Regions from separate parts of the Homo sapiens genome. Here region 1 is linked to region 2. The links are contacts of gene promoters, found by promoter capture Hi-C in human tissues and cell types (Jung and others, 2019). All regions are on one chromosome and are shown on one strand. The core of a region is centred on a gene start or on the middle of the fragment in contact, and the rest is flanking DNA. Distances in the headings are between cores, read along the strand shown.

Evidence for each region. Contacts are between HindIII fragments. The study calls those that stand out against the background at their distance.
Region 1: a contact is called between a fragment that was not itself captured here and the fragment with the promoter of ZDHHC21 in region 2, in 1 of the 25 tissues and cell types used here (dorsolateral prefrontal cortex).

The regions. Positions count from the first base shown.
Region 1 is chr9:13,097,365-13,100,240 of GRCh38, forward strand. No RefSeq gene overlaps it. Among named protein-coding and RNA genes, the nearest start is that of SNORD137, 130 kb to the left of the region's middle. The HindIII fragment of the contact is 3,261 bases long and covers 1-2,876 here.
Region 2 is chr9:14,692,182-14,694,881 of GRCh38, forward strand. ZDHHC21 (zDHHC palmitoyltransferase 21) reads right to left here and starts at 1,251. Exons shown (of 10, transcript NM_178566.6): 1 at 1,048-1,251. RefSeq lists silencers at 893-1,032, 1,113-1,182 and an enhancer at 1,256-1,756. The HindIII fragment of the contact is 8,706 bases long and covers 1-2,700 here.

The sequences.
Region 1 (2,876 bases), core at 357-2,856, 1.6 Mb before region 2:
AATAAATAGAGAATAAAGAAACAAAATATCGAATTGGGGACTCCAATCCTATTTTTCCCTTTCAAAATTTTTTTAGCAACCAGAGTTTCTAATCTGTCTAGTATTCAGAATTCCTATACATAAAGTTCTATTAACTTTTTCTAGTAACTTTTCTTTTTCATTTGAAAGTTGAAACATAGATAAGCCTCCTAAGTATCATGGGAAGTACATCACATCAAAAAAATATGGTCCATGGTTCACAAAGAAAAAGTTACCAATGATTTTCACACCTCAGAACTTCCCATCACAATTTTGACATGGACACATATATCTTAGCATAGCAAATGATAACTTCCACACAGGTGGCTCCGCACATATATTCTTTTGGATCTCAATTCCTTAATGTTTCAAAGTGATTCTTGGCCCTTCACTGTCTTCCAATATTTGAAATGTATGATTTTTAAAATAAATATTCATAAAACATTTTACTAGCAAGGAGATTGAGACTGGTTTAGCAACTTAACTCATCCAATGTGCAAACCTAAAAATTGGGCTTACGTGTACTAATTGTCTGCTGTCCAGTTCAGAGAGGCATCACTCTTGCATGACACCCATAGAAAAGCATGCTACAGAATCCCAAATAGAAGCTCTATTTTCCCAACCCTAACACAAACCTTCAACAGCATGAGCTTTCAGAGCCAGGTCTTTGTAGACCATGAAGCTTATTTTATGGTCAAATGGGATCATCCCTTGGCAGAAGTCCTCTTTAGAAGCAAACTTCCTTTACTTGACTGTTTAAAATAATGTGAAAACTTAACCATTAGAGGTATATACAATTTCCACCTTACATTTCTCCAATTTATTATCAACCATTTGAGAAATAATAACGAATATGAATGAAAACAAGCATTTTGCCAGCAGTATGATCTCACCAACTTCCTTCTAGAATACTGTTTAGTCTACCAAGCTAAGTTCTTCTTTTTCCCTCCTTTTGAAGAGGGACTGTACATAAAAAGGGCATTAAAGTGGAATCTACTTATCCTAATTAACACAGATGACTGGAGAGGAGGGATTATATGAGTGATGGATATTTTGCAATTTCCCATTATCTTGAAAACTAGATACTTGGCTTATTATACAAGTGCTGGGGTTTTGATTGATAAAACCTCTCACTAGGTTTAAATATCTCCCATCCAAAACATCTCTTATTTAAAATGTTAAGGAGTGGCACATTCACTTCACCAATCAATGAGACCTTGCAGCTCTCAATTCTCCTAGAATCCTTTTTGTTTTTAGCTTCCCTTTCTGGCAGAAATTATGAGGAAATCTCTAGAATAAGAAAGTAGGAAGGCACTTTACAAGTTTATTTTGAAAGTCGGGATACAAATTCATAGTAGTGTTAGAACACTCTTTCAGATGGCCCCCCACAATTCCACTATATGTATCACCACAGCTCTGAAGTTACACTGACTTTCGCAGTGGTAACAATATTTCTAGCATTTATCAGGTGCTATCATATGCAACCACCTCATCTCATTTGATACTAAGAGTGCTGTGAGGAAAAATGTTATTATTTCCATTTTACCAACAAAGCAGGCAGAGGCTCAGAGAAGTCAGTTGCCTGCTAATCAGGAGCCCAGCCAGGTTACGAACTCAGGGCCCTGAGCTCTGAAGGCCCATGCCCTTCACACTACATTTCAGAGAAATCTAGAGTTCCTTCCTTATATGACATTTATCAGCTATGATTTACATTAAATGCAAGAGCAAGACAGGCAAAGTGAAGGATAAAACATTGATAACTTTGCTATATGAATAACTGTAATGTACAGAAAGGAAAAGCTTTAGAAAAAATTAACTACTGTACACCAAAAATAGAAATTCTAAGGCCCCCCAACCATCTGAATGGACTCCTCCTCTCAGCCAAGGGCATTCCAAAGTTAACCTGAATAATGAGTTCAGGCCATGATAAGAAGGGGTAGCCAGACATGCCTTATTATACCCTCCTCCCTTTTGGAATTACTGATAGAACAGATTAGGTCTGACAAGAAACATTTACAATCTATTCTCTCTGAAGCCTGCTACCTAGAAACTTCATCTTTATGAGAAAACCCTGGCCTACACAACCCCTTATCATAAGCCAAACATGCCTTTCTGTTAATAACTCTTTCAACCAGTGGCCAATCACAAAATCTTTGAATTTGCCTATGACTTGGAAGCTCCAGCTTCCACTTGTCCCCCATTTCCAGACCAAACCAACATACATCTTACATGTATTGATTTATATCTCATGTCTCCCTAAAATATATAAAGCCAAACTGTACCCTGACCACCTTGGGCACATGTTCTCAGGATCTCCTGAGGGCTGTGTCATGAGCCATGGTCACTCATATTTGGCTCAGAATAAATCTCAAATATTTTACAGAGTTTGACTCTTTTGATCAACACCATTGAATAGAAGCAATAATAAGCAGACACTTACAAATAAATGTGGTTGACAACTATTACAAATGTAAAGTTTAAATGTGAAACTTTTCTCACAGTACTTTGGGAGGCAAAGGCGGGTGGATTGCTTGAGCCCAGGAGGAGTTCGAGACCAGCCTGGGCAAATGTGAAACCCTGTCTCTACCAAAAAAAAAAAAAAAAAAAAAAAGCAAAAGTTAGCCTGGTGTGGTGGCTTGCACCTGTAGTCCTAGCTAGCTACTCGGGAGGCTGAGGTGTGAGAATTGCATGGGAGGTGCAGGTTGCAGTGAGCCAAGATCACACCACTGCACTTCAGCCTGAGTGAGAATGTGAGACCCTGTCTCACAAACAAAAACAACAAAAACAAATGTACATTTTCTTTCTTAACCCTAGGATTAAACAGTAAAAGATGAGGAAACTGTATGTTCTTTAGGCTA
Region 2 (2,700 bases), core at 1-2,500:
AATCTAAAGAGTTGGAAGAATTTAATATTACACCAAAAGCCTTTTAATCCAGGAATGGCGCATACTAAGCAGTCATCAAATGGTGACTGTTATTAATATTATTCTTACCACAAGGAAAGCAGTGAATTTTTAAAAGTGCATATATTAGCATAGTAGGCTGAGGACCTATTTAACACATCTTTTTAAATTGCACTTAATTATCCTTAGTCGCCTTTGGACTGTAACTTTACAATATAATTTATGACCCGCCCACAATGACCTTGATTTTTTTTTCTCTTCTACTTTTAGAGACTGCTATATTGCAATATTTTAAAGTAATAATTGGTCATGTCCTCTCAGCCCTGGTGATACAGACATCCACCCTGACTCTCAAGGGATCTTAAAATGTGACCCACATATAGCTTGAAAAAGACCGTAACTTAAATGGACTCTGCAGTTACAATCCAGCGACCTGTTACAGTGAACAGTAACAAGTGCAAACTGCTGCCATCCATAAGCCATTTTCCGAAAACCTCTTTGGATCAAGAGGAGAGGAGTGAGAAGGTCAATAAAGGAGCAAACTGTTTGTCCTCTCTGCAGCTTCACACCAGAAGTCTGGAATGAATGAAAAGCTCTGGAATAGCACAGAGAAACCCGGGATCCCAGTGCAGGTCTCCAGACGGGGGTGCGGGGAGAGAAACTGTAGTTTACAAGCGAGAAACTCAGGATACAGATTTAAAATAAATAAATAAATAACTAGCCAACATCGTCTCGACTAGAGCAGGAACCCCCCACCCCCAGTTGAGGGAGGAGCACTTAGCAAGGGGCTGTAGCTCTAGCAGAAGACGCTCTGAAAAAGGCCAGGCCTGGGGCGGGGAGGCACCGAGAAACCCCCGGGTTCCAAACAGAGCAGGTGCAGGGGGCGTGCAGGAACAGGTGAGGGCGTCCCGGCGCGGAGGAGCGGCGGGCGGGCCCGGCAGAGCGGAGCGGGGGCCGGGGATGGGGGTGGGGGTGCGGATGGGGATGGGGGTGGGGGCGGCCGCTTCGCCCCCGCGCCTGCACACTCACCGTCGCCGCTGGCTCGCCTCTCGCTGCCGCCGCTCTCCCGACCGCCAGCAGCTCTTTCCCCTCCTCCTGCCGCGCCACCTCCGCCTCCTCCGGCGCCGCCGCCCAGGCCGGGCCGCTCTCCCCTTCCGCTTCCGGGAGCCTGAGGGCCTGGACCGGCCGAGTGGGTGTCCGCATGCCCGCGCGCCCGCGTGGGGAGGGACGACTGCCGCCGTCGCCGTCTCGCTTAGCTCCCGGGAGCCGCGATGGGAGCCGCTGAGGGCCGAAACTCCTGCAATCGCGCCGCAGCCCCAGAGCCGCGGACCCAGGCAGACCGCACTCTCCAGAGCGCTTGCACCTGGCGCGCCTGGGCGCCTCTGCCCCTCCCCAGCCCTACTTGAGCCGTCCTTCTCATTGTCCCCATATCCTCACTGCTCACCTCTCCCGAGAGACAGGATGGGGGCCTTAGCTTAAAAGATTGCATGTATCCTTTCTTCGGGGGATGTGGCCAGCAGGCCTCTCTCCCCGCAGGTGTTCTGGGATGTCCCATGGTACCTTGCTTCAAAGCGCGGTCTGCAGCATCAGCATCCTCTGGGAACTCACAATCTTTGAAATGCACAATTTCAGGCCTGCTGAATCAGTACATGCACTTCAGCAAGATCACCAGGTGACTCCTGGGGTGCACCGTAAAGATGGAAAAGCATTGCACTGTAGTGCATGGTCTCGTCCACTTCAGACCCTCTATTGGGTTGCCTCAGACATCCCAGGATATTTCCTGTTCCTGTCCTCAACCTAAATCCACACCCAAACAATCTTTTCTTATATTTTGGGAGACCTCCAAAAGTTTCCTGCTTTCCCATCCCTGCAAAAGCCGACAACTTTTGGACTCAGCGATGCAAGTAATCCACCTCTCAGTCTAACTTGGTATCTTCACCAAACACCAGAGATCTACTAACTTTCCCACCTCACTCCGGCTGAACAGTATTTGGGGAAGGTTAAACCGTTTGCAGTAATGTGGAGCTAGATCTTTCTGCCCACGTGCCACAGGAGGAGACAGTGTGTTGGTGGAAGAAATATTACCTGTTGTATAAAATCTGTATTCCTTATAAGATGTGCTTAAAAGCCCTCCACAGACACATCCCTACCTACCTCTCCAGTCTTAGCTCCAACTAATTTGGTTCATTTCCCCATTCTAGAATGCCCTGCTCTCTGATGATCTTAACCCTATCCAGATTTGAGAGTGGAAATCTTGCCAAACCAGAGTTCTCTCACCACTGCCCTTATATAGTGCACATTGTTGCCTGTTTGGGGCCTCATATTACCTTGTATTGCTAAGGATTTTTAAACATGTTGTGTCCTGGTTTCTGAACTAATTATAAACACCTTGTGACCTTAAAAACTTTGGTCAGTGGTTATCAAAGTGGGATCCCTAGACCAGCAGCATCGGTATCACCTGTCAACTTGTGAGAAATCCATATTCTTTTGCCCCATCCCAGATCTACTGTAGTAGAAACTGTTTAGGTGTAGCCCAGCAATCCGTGATGTAACAAGCCTTTTAGGTGATCCTAATACACACTCAAGTTTTAGAATTACTGACCTAGATTACTAGATATTCCCAAAAGAACCCAGTGGTAGGAATTGATTTACCCATAAGCAGATTTTATTGCCTTTCAGGTT